3 separate regions of the Homo sapiens genome follow, and all the other regions are linked to region 1. The links are contacts of gene promoters, found by promoter capture Hi-C in blood cells and fetal thymus (Javierre and others, 2016). All regions are on one chromosome and are shown on one strand. Each heading gives the region's core, a stretch centred on a gene start or on the middle of the fragment in contact. The rest is flanking DNA. Distances are from core to core; before and after follow the strand shown.

Evidence for each region. Contacts are between HindIII fragments. The CHiCAGO score rates a contact against its expected background, and 5 or more counts as called.
Region 2: a fragment that was not itself captured here is called in contact with the fragment with the promoter of ZNF397 in region 1 in 2 of 17 cell types (total CD8 T cells and total B cells); the score reaches 5.3 in total CD8 T cells.
Region 3: a contact is called between a fragment that was not itself captured here and the fragment with the promoter of ZNF397 in region 1, in 5 of 17 cell types (total CD8 T cells, megakaryocytes, naive CD4 T cells and 2 more). The highest score is 7.2, in total CD8 T cells.

What each region holds. Positions count from the first base shown.
Region 1 is chr18:35,239,496-35,242,919 of GRCh38, forward strand. It overlaps ZNF397 (zinc finger protein 397), which reads left to right and starts at 1,539. Exons shown (of 4, transcript NM_001135178.3): 1 at 1,539-1,614; 2 at 2,896-3,389. The coding sequence starts at 2,976. RefSeq lists enhancers at 1,221-1,330, 1,276-1,801 and a silencer at 1,591-1,720. The HindIII fragment of the contact is 1,449 bases long and covers 673-2,121 here.
Region 2 is chr18:35,119,968-35,123,391 of GRCh38, forward strand. All of the region lies in intron 4 of MAPRE2 (microtubule associated protein RP/EB family member 2), which reads left to right. Among named protein-coding and RNA genes, the nearest start is that of MAPRE2, 80 kb to the left of the region's middle. The HindIII fragment of the contact is 768 bases long and covers 1,556-2,323 here.
Region 3 is chr18:35,320,746-35,324,169 of GRCh38, forward strand. No RefSeq gene overlaps it. Among named protein-coding and RNA genes, the nearest start is that of ZNF24, 22 kb to the right of the region's middle. The HindIII fragment of the contact is 329 bases long and covers 1,367-1,695 here.

The sequences.
Region 1 (3,424 bases), core at 289-2,788:
AGTTAAGTGAAGATAGCTGACACATCATAAAGCAGACTAGCCATCTCCGCTAAGCCCTTCCTGAATTCCTGGCAACAGAACTGTGAGCAATAAAACATCTGCTGTTTTTAGTCACTAAGTCTTGAAGTGGTTCATTATGAAGCAATTGATAATTTATAAACAAATTAATATTATTTGGTTTTTTGCTTTGTAAAATTGCTGTAGTCATTTCACAATGATAAAATTATTTAGTGAGTCACTAATAGCTTTGAATGCTAACGAACATTTTTCTCAAATATGTGTTTTAAGTCTTGGCTCACAAAGGAGAATTTGTTTCTATGTATGTATGTATCGCTTTGTTATTATCCTGTGTACTTTTTTAATATAACATTTTAAAAATATGTAACATTTAAACATGTAAAATGTAACGTTTTAAAAATAAATACAAATAAATGGGAAACGATTTGCAACAAACGAGTTGCTATCCTTAATAAGCAAAAAATTCTCACAAATAAAAAAGAAAAATCTTACTCCCTTAATTTTTTAAATGGGAAAAGCCATCTCTGAAGAACCATAAATGGTCAGTAAACATGAAGGGGGACTATCTTAAGCTCACAAAGTTGAAACATGAGGCATCATTTTTCACCGACTAAATAGCCAAAGAAAAATTTAAACAGTGAGACAATACCAGCAAGCTTCCACTGAAGAACGGGAAGACCCTAAGATAGGCTCCAGGAGTCTACGATACCAGTCTCCTTGAACTATGGGGACGTGGACGTCCCTGGTCACAAGTTGCCTGACTTTGGGCGATGTCTACGGCTGTAAATTTGGGATTATATAGCCACAGCACAGAACTGTTGTAAGGCTCCAGTGATACTCATAGGCAAAAGCAATATAAGTGACTGTTAGTTTTTGTTCAGCCTATTCATCCTTACATTTACTTTTGTCGGAAAAGAACTGGAATCACAGGAAAATCTGAGGTTTTTTTTTTTTTTTTTTTTTTGAGACAGAGTCTCGCTCTGTCGCCCAGGCTGGAGTGCAGCACATCTCAGTTCACTGCAAGCTCCGCCTCCCGGGTTCACGCCATTCTCCTGCCTCAGCCTCCCGAGTAGCTGGAACTACAGGCGCCCGCCAACATGCCCAGCTAAATTTTTGTATTTTTAGTAGAGACGGGGTTTCACCGTGTTAGCCAGGATGGTCTCTATCTCCTGACCTCGTGATCCGCCCGCCTCGGCCACCGCGCCCGGCCGAAAATCTGAATATTTTAATGGAAAACTGGGAGTGAGATTCGGGAATTACTTGAGACCAACAATGATGGGTGGTGCCAGGAGAAAGCCAGGGTGGGAACGGCCCAGGCGAGATGCGGGACCCTCCAGGTGCCGCCGCTCACAAGGACCCCTGACTCCTAGCGCACCCTCCCCTGGCCTTGGAGATTCCGCCGGGCTAGCGGCTACCGGGAGAAGGCGGTGGAAACTGTAGAGCCCGCGGCTCTGATTGGCTACCTCAGAGCAAGGGGCGGGGCGGCGGAGGACCCGAAGGGCGCGAGAGCGGAACACTGCGTACGCGCACTTCCGGTCTTTGTGGCTTGCAGCTCGGGGTGGGTGGCTCATTTCCTGGCCGCTCCTGGGCTTCGCGGTGAGGGACGTGGGCCCCTAGGAAGAGGGAGGTGGGGTTGGGAGCGCGCGCCGGACAGTGGAGGAGCTCCGCTCCTCGGCCTGCCCATCCCCAGGTCGCGGCCCTTTGGCCCGCGCGGCGTCTCCAAGCGACTGGGGAACTCAGAGGAGGCCAGCACTCAAACTCCTGCTTTCCAAAGGAAAACGCAGTTCCGCTGACCCCGTGACTTCGTAAATGCTGCGGTTTAACCAAGGATATAAAAATAGAAGGGCTAGTTAGTTAGTTAGTTAGTGCGGCCGGACTGGTTAAACCTTAAATTTGTAGGCTAAATATTTTAATTCATCTCTTAACGTTAACCGTAGTGTGAGGAATGAATTTTACTCATCTGTCCTGACAAACTAAGGGCATACATTCCTATCGATATCTCGCCATCCTAAAAGCAGGTCAAGTTTGGTCTGTGTCACAACATTTAATACCTATTTGTTACCATATTTTGCTTTTGAACATTTTTAGTCTTGGGATATTCTAAGCTTTTTCAGAACTGATACGGATCTCTTTGCTGCTTTTGTGTATGTGATACCTATCATGTTTTTGAACACATGGTAAGCATTTTACAGATACGTCTTGGTTCTTGGTCAATTCCTCTGTAGACTCGTTTATTCATAAGCAAAAATCTTAATGCTCAGTAAGTGCCTCAGTGTTTGTTGAAGTAATTCGGTAAACACCAAATGCGATCAAATGACAAATATCCAATATTTACATCAACTCATGTTTAATGTGAACTTTTAAAAAAACGTTATTACTGCCTTAAATGAAAATCAACATTACTTGCTTTAGATAGAAAGTAAGTAAAAATAAATGTTTAAAATCAGTATTACTAAATTCTGCCTAAATATTTTTACTCTTGGAAGTCTGATTCTGAAGCCTGTATTTTATTTAAAAGAGAGTTCTACAAGTTTTATTAATACATACATGTTAAAGATAGACTTTTCTCCTTGATACAATCAGAATTGAAAGAATTGGAAAGGAAATTTTCTCACTATGTGATTGATGTTAATGTTGCATTCACATTCTTAGGCTTCTAAAATAGTTTTTTCTAACATTAGTGGTAGGAATTCTTCATAATGGGAGACACTAATTGAGGTTAATGATTTTTAGTTTATCATCACATTATTGTTTTATTTAGTGATAGCCCCAAATCTACTCCCTTTCAATATATTACTAAAGTTACTCATCTTTCTTATTACAAGTACTTAGAGATTTTATTGATTGCTGTAAGTTAACTGCTTTTATATCCTTCAGGAAAGAAGAGATTACTCACACTCCTTCGCAAGCACAGAACCAGTTGTACTGAGCTTTTTGCTAAGCTGTTTCAGCCAAGAATGGCTGTGGAATCTGGAGTGATTTCAACCCTGATACCTCAGGATCCTCCGGAACAAGAACTAATACTAGTGAAAGTAGAAGATAACTTTTCCTGGGATGAGAAATTTAAGCAGAATGGGAGTACTCAATCCTGCCAAGAATTGTTTCGTCAGCAATTCAGAAAATTTTGCTACCAGGAGACACCTGGGCCCCGGGAGGCTCTGAGCCGACTCCAGGAACTTTGCTATCAGTGGCTAATGCCAGAGTTGCACACAAAGGAGCAGATCTTAGAACTGCTGGTACTGGAGCAGTTCCTGAGCATTCTGCCTGAGGAGCTGCAGATCTGGGTTCAGCAACATAATCCAGAAAGCGGCGAGGAAGCTGTGACCCTGTTGGAGGATTTAGAGAGGGAGTTTGATGACCCAGGGCAGCAGGTGGGAACGGAGAAAAGTGATGTGGGAAAAGGAAT
Region 2 (3,424 bases), core at 690-3,189, 120 kb before region 1:
TGTGTGCCAGACCCTTGTGTAAGCATTTTCCATGTATTAAGTCATGTACCCCTCCCAACTCTGAGAAGTTGGTGCTGCTCCTCCTTTCTTAAATGTAAAGCAAGGTGGCCACAAAGCCACACCAGTCAGGAAGTAGTGGAGCTGGGACCCCTAAGAAGGCTCTCTGGCTGCAGAGCCCCCACTCTTGACCACTGCACTCACTCCCTCCCTAGAGGCAGGTGAAGGATGTCCAATTCCCTACCAGGTCTTCATTCCCACGAGATTGGTGTGGCTAGTGCCTGCTGTGTGGAGCTGCCCCTAGCTGCTCAAGGAGGACTGCCCACTCTTAAGAGCCTCCACTGAAAAGGAAGAGCTGCAGACCTCACCACTGGCTGCACTGGTCAGAACAGAAGTCCTAAGGGCTGTAAACTGCCAATTTCAGAATTAAAAAACCAGCCTCCTAGTGATCTCATGAATCAGAGCATCCCAGAACCCTGTTAAAGTTTCATTTGGATGGAAATCTGTCCACTGAGGTGCTTTTTTGCCCTCAGCTCAGAGCAGATTACAGAATCTACAAAGTGACAGTACGGAGGCAGTTTTGAAGGAAAGACTAGGTCAATATAACTTGAATTTGCAGTAATCAGAATTCTGTAGGGACTGGCAACCCTATTGCAGTATGAGGGCTGTGGTGTCAGTTCAGTTACTGAGGAAGTCCTCTTCCTATGGAATTCACTCTCCTCATCAGTCTAGCCCATACCCTTTCTCCAGCAATGACATTACTTTTTTTTTTAACCAAGCTCATCATCTGTTAAAAAATATAATCTCTTTGCCAAGGTGCAGGGGATAAGAAAGTAATATCAAATCCATCCACAATGAATCAATACAGATGCAGTGTATCTTCTGCCATAGTTGTTCAGCTCTGGGTTTTCTTCAATTGAGTGAGAACGGCTAGGGGGATGGTTTGGGAAGGGAAGGGGCTCTCAAAGTAGAGAAAAATTGGGATTGACCATGACCAGAAGAGTGGTGGCCGCCTGCATGTGTGTGTGCACACGCTCATGTTTTTAATGTCTCTTGTCAACAGTATTAATGTCATATTTTTATCTCCTCTGTTTATGACTTTGGCAAAAGGAATAATATGGCAGATTATGTGAAAAGAATTTCTAAATTCCAGCAGAGTCTTGGCCATGAAGGATAAAGCCAAGTCCAGTGCTTTGATTTGCTTCATCCTTCTGAATCCATTGGGCCTCATATGCCCAACTTGTTGCAGCGTTTTCCATAAACATTAAGCAAGCTACTAGTTATTGACATTAGACACGGTAATGCCCTGGCTTCACTAAGGCAGTGAATCTGACCACTCCGAATTTTTTTACAACTATGGTTAAAATGTCAGAATCATATTTATACCCCCAAATCCTAAAGGCATTAATTAAGACACAACTGCTCAAAGACTAGCATTGTAAATCATGTCCAGTGAGCAAATTCAGAGAATTACAGGGACTTAGACAGAATTTATGCTTTTTTCCTCTGCTTCTGAGATTCCTTTTTATTTTGAAAGGTAAAATTAGGGAGGTAGAAAAGCTTGAGGGCAAAATGGTTACTTGTAAACAGGGCCACTACTAATTATGTTCTCAGGACATCCTCAAATGCAGCTTGAAAAAAAATTTGAAATGTTTGAATCAGCTGCAAGAAAAAAAAATCTATATCTGTATTACAGCCAAAGTAGGTGCACTCTCTGTAAAAGCTGTTATGTAAATGTTTTCCACATAAGCATCATTGAGCCAAGAGGCCTGGTAAAGGTACAGAAGTCAAATCACTGATGGAGTGGGGCATTCTGGGAAGCAAGAAGATAGCTATTGAGGACTTCAGTATCTAAAACCAGGATTGGATGCTGTCAGAGACATGTTTGGAGCAGTTTACGAGATTGGAATACAGATGGTAGCTCACATAAAAGTATTCTATCAATGTTAAGTTTATGACATTGATAACTGTGCAGTTTTGTGAGAACATTCTTGTTCTAGTGCCCAGGTAAGGGGGAAAGAGTATCTGGCAGCCCCAGAAATTTTAGAGTGTGGTTGTTAGAAGGCAGCGAGACCTAGAAAGCAAATAAACAAAAACAAGTTCTTAACTCTAAAGAGTTATGCTGTATGTTAGGATATTGTCTTTTATTTATTCTGAAAAAGAAAACATGAAATCATTGAATATAATGAGGACAAAAGGTTTCATTTTTATTTTTATACATTTAGTATTTCTTAATCATGTGACAGCTGTGAGGGGTAAATTACTTCCGTTTCAAATTGCAGCTTGGGATGATTTAATGAGCCCACTTTACATTTATTTGAAAACAAGCTTTTAGTTTAACTGTTAATTATGGGGTTTTTTTGTTGTAGTTGTTGTTTTACCCAAACCTCGGAAGATACTAAGATCTTTCCCATGCCTTTCCTGTTCTTTAATTTCTTCACATTTATTCATTTGAAGGTAAAAATGTAGTTAAGTAGGCCTGATCTCACATATCCTCATGCATCATTTATTTTCCTGTTATCAGTTTTTCTCCGAACAATAGAATTTCAAGATCCCTCTCATTTTAAATATCAAATACTAGTTACCTAAGTGATTGATTATTAAATGTTTAGAATTTTTTTTCCATTTCTTCCTTCACTCAGCCTGCACTGTGTCCCCGTTAGTGAGGCTTAACGGTGGGGCAGAAGCGGTGCTTCCATCCCACATGTGTGTAGGTGGTGGAGCAGCAGAGGTTGCCGAGCCTGATTTTCATCGCCTGCACCTCTCTCATCTCAAAGGGATCCAGGAGGTGCACGTGTGTGTGCCAGTGGGAAAGCCCTGGGGCCCTAGGCCACCACCTGACCTTTGCCTGATTCGTGAGCACAGATGCCATTTTAGGGCCGAGACTCTGCTGAACCACAGCTTGGTGAGTCCAAGCCACACAGGCAGGTTGAAGTTGGGCTCTGTTAACAGAAAGGGATATTTCCTCAGGGGAAGAAAACAAAACAAAACCTGTTTCCCCAAGTGGCTGTGTGTGGCTAGAAGGGGGAGAGCATCAGTAACTGCAGCAGCTGTGCCCTCCCTCCCTGCCGTGAGCCATGCTGAGCGCCTCCAGCGGCCGGGGATTCTCCCTGCGTGTCTCACTGCTCTCCTGGCCAGTGTCCTCTGCTTCTTCATAGTTGCTCTTCCCCGATAACGTGGCTTTGCCCAGGGGTTTGGCTTGCCATGACCCCTTCTACATCTTATCAAACATTTCAGTTTTTTTTTCAAGCTCTGTTTGATAATACCCTGAGAATATAATTAGTGGTAGCCCTTTATTGTAAGCAATCAGCTTCTGTTTCTTCCATGATTTTTTCTTTTTAAATTGACATCAGACTGGATAAGGCCAGATACCAGAACATGAGTGTGTCTGATGATCCTAGCTCAGTTATTGCAACGACTTTTTTGT
Region 3 (3,424 bases), core at 281-2,780, 81 kb after region 1:
CTTGCATAGAGAGCCAATGTGTTCATGCGGACTATTGGCCCAATATTGGGCAGAACAAGAGTTAATTGCATGGACTTACCTAGTAGAAGACTGAAATAGGCCAGGCACAGTAGCTCATGCCTGTAATCCCAGCACTTTGGGCGGCTAAGGCCAGAGGATCACTTGAGCCCAGGAGTTTGAGACCAGCCTGGGCAATATAGGGAGACCCTGTCTCTACAATCAATCAATCAATAAGCTGGGTATAGTGGCATATGCCTGTGGTCCCAGCTACTCAAGAGGCTAAAGTAGGAGGGTTGCTCTAGCCCGGGAGGATGAGGATGCAGTGAGCTGTGATCACACCACTGCACTCTAGTCTGAGTGACAGAGCCAGACCCTGTTTCAAAACAACAAAAAAAGACTGAAATAATCTTTCTTAGACCTTTTTATTTAAAACATTGCTGATCCTTCTAAGTTTTTCAGAATCAAGAAAACTTTTTTCTCTGTTAAGCTATTTATACCTTTTAACAACTGAGTAAAGTAGACTTCTGTAAGCAAAATTTGGGGCATTATTTCTTTCTGTCTAGTTAACTTCTCCAGAATTTGAAAATTATTTGTGAGTATTCCTAACTTGCAGCAATATAGTTGTTTGCCTAAGTGCAATAAGAATCTGTCTTCTTTTGTAACAGGCATAATTAGAGACACTTTTTGTTTTAAGGCTTTGACTGGAATAGCATGCTTTCAGATTGCTTTTAAAAATTGGGGATTACTTAGAGAACCAATAAAAGCTCCTTGGAGGAAATGGTCTCATACTTTGTCTATGCAGTCCCTGCACAGGGTTCCTGACCTGTGGAAAAGAATGTCACTTTCTGACAGGTCCAGGAGCCCCCAAACTATTATAAGACTTGTAGAGGAAAGGAGTTCACCCAATTCATACAAGTATTTGTAGGCGCAAATACATCCACAGTGGGGCTCAAGGCTTTAAAAAGTCTAACCAGAGATTCCTATGGAAGTTTCAGCAAAACCAGTTTTTTTTAAAAAAAGGATACTACATGGCAAATGATTATTCTTGCTGTACTTTATGCAAATAATCACAGCAAGTATAATAAGATAAAACAGCCAGACATGGTGGCTCACACCTATAATTCTAGCACTTTGGGAGGCCAAGGCAGGTGGATCACCCGAGGCCAGGACTTCGAGACCAGCCTGGCCAACATGGAAAAAAAAACCTTTTCTCTACTAAAAATACAAAAATTAGCTGGGCATGGTGATGCACATCTGCAATCCCAGATACTCGGGAGGCTGAGGCACGAGAATCACTTGAACCCAGGAGGCAGTGGTTGCAGTGAGCTGAGAGTGCACACTGCACTCCAGCCTGAGTGACAGAGCAAGCTTCTGTCTCAAAAAAAAAAGACTAAAACTTACCGCAAGATAAGTTTTAGTCTTGTTATACCATATTCCAGCATGATTTATCTTTGGTAAAACTGGGAGACTGGACAGGAAGATTACGTTTTGTTTAAAAAGAAAATGTATAGTGCACCAGTTATTGGATTCCAGTTCTTGTCTGTTGTTTTTGAGTTTTTATTATTTTCTACAATTTGGATTGGCTCTTCAATTCTTTCTGGGCTCCAAACCAACATTTTCAAAATTTTCTTCTATTTTTCAGACTAGGACTCAATGAAATTGCTGCCCCCATGTTCCTGAGGCTCTGCAAGCTGAAGCTTATTTCTCATGATATAGGCAAGAAAAATGTGTCAGGTTGCCACCACCTTCCTCCCTGGTAACTAAAGATATTTTGAGTCTAACATCTAGATACATTGTGTCCAACATTAACCTTTGTTTTTCTTCTGTTTCCATAAAAATGCCTCTTATTAAAAACCTGTTTGCCTTCATTAATATAGAGGCTCAGCCTGTTTGCAATGCCACCTCCTGGAATGAGACACAGTTGTTTAAACTAATCTATTCTCAGGACTAGGAAGCTGACTCAACAAGGGTGTGGATGGTTGAAGCTCGTATCTTCCAGGCTTCAACAGTCCCCAGTCAAGCTGATGATGGAACAACATATACTATACTAGGAGTATCTAAGTCCCTATAAATCATTAGATCAGTCAGCAAGAGATTTTTACAACCTCCAATGTTAGGCAACGACAACAGTCCAGTTCAGGAAGAAGCAGCTCCAGAAGACAAGACCTCCATCCCCTTCTCCTTAAGAATAAGGAGGGTAAAATCTCTCAGGGGGAATGAAACAGGGTAGAGGTGGGACTCAGCCAGCCCCCACCAATGTATTTTTTCATACATACCTGCTGACCAGACCTTGCAAACTCTCTGAAGAAACTAAGATAAGCAGCATCCCACCATAAATCTTACTCAAGGCACCATATCTGCTGATTGTGGGACCTTGAAAAACCACAATAAGCAACACCCAAACATGAATTTCACTCAAAGGAGTTAACCCTATCACCTACATGTGCACAAAACCAGAAGAATGACCAATCTTTGACCCATGCTTCATTATAATACTAAAATTCCTGCCCAAGGAGGGGCTTATCTGCCCTTTTATGGTCATATATGTTACCAAGATTCCTTACTGTATCTGCACACTGCATTCTACCCTGCACATATAGTGACACTCACCTACCTCATGAATTCTGCATGCCACCCTCCTTAAGACATCACGATGCACTCCCCTTGGGGAGTCAGCCCAAGAACTTTTTCCTTTTCTGTCTTCCTTATGCCCAGCCTTTCTGGGGGTAAGTCTTAATAACCCTTGTCTAGGAAAAGTTTGCCTGGCCTCATCTTCATTTCTATTACTAATTTCTATTGAGAGCCAAGAACCTCATGTACATAACAATAATTTCACTCCAAAATATATAAAGCTTAAATTGACAAAACTAAAATAAGTGATAATTCTGTAATCCTAGTAGGAGACTTTCACAATTCTCACAATATTTTCTTTTATGTATTTATTATCATGACCTCTACACACTGAAACAACTCTCACATTTGTAAAATATAGAACAAACAGAAAAAAAATTCTAAGGAATTACAGTGTAGGTTGACAATTTAATTAATAAAATGGCCTCACGGATGTATAGATAACAGTGCAACCAATGACAGAAAACTTATTCTTTTTAGATGCACAGAGAAAATTTACCAAAACTTAGCATGAACTGGTTCATAAAGCAACTTACAACAAATCTCATCAGATGGAAATCATTTAGAGTAGTGCTGTCCAATAGGACTATTTTTGTCCTATTTATATTGTTGAATACAGTAGTCACTATAGTCAACACAGCAGTTACTAGCCAGATGTGGTTATTGAACACTAATATATGACTGGTGTGGCTGATGAACTAAATTTCATTTCTAATTAGTTCAAATAGCCACATGTGGTTATGGCTATCATATTGGAAAGCACAGACTCACCGTATATTTAGACAATCACACA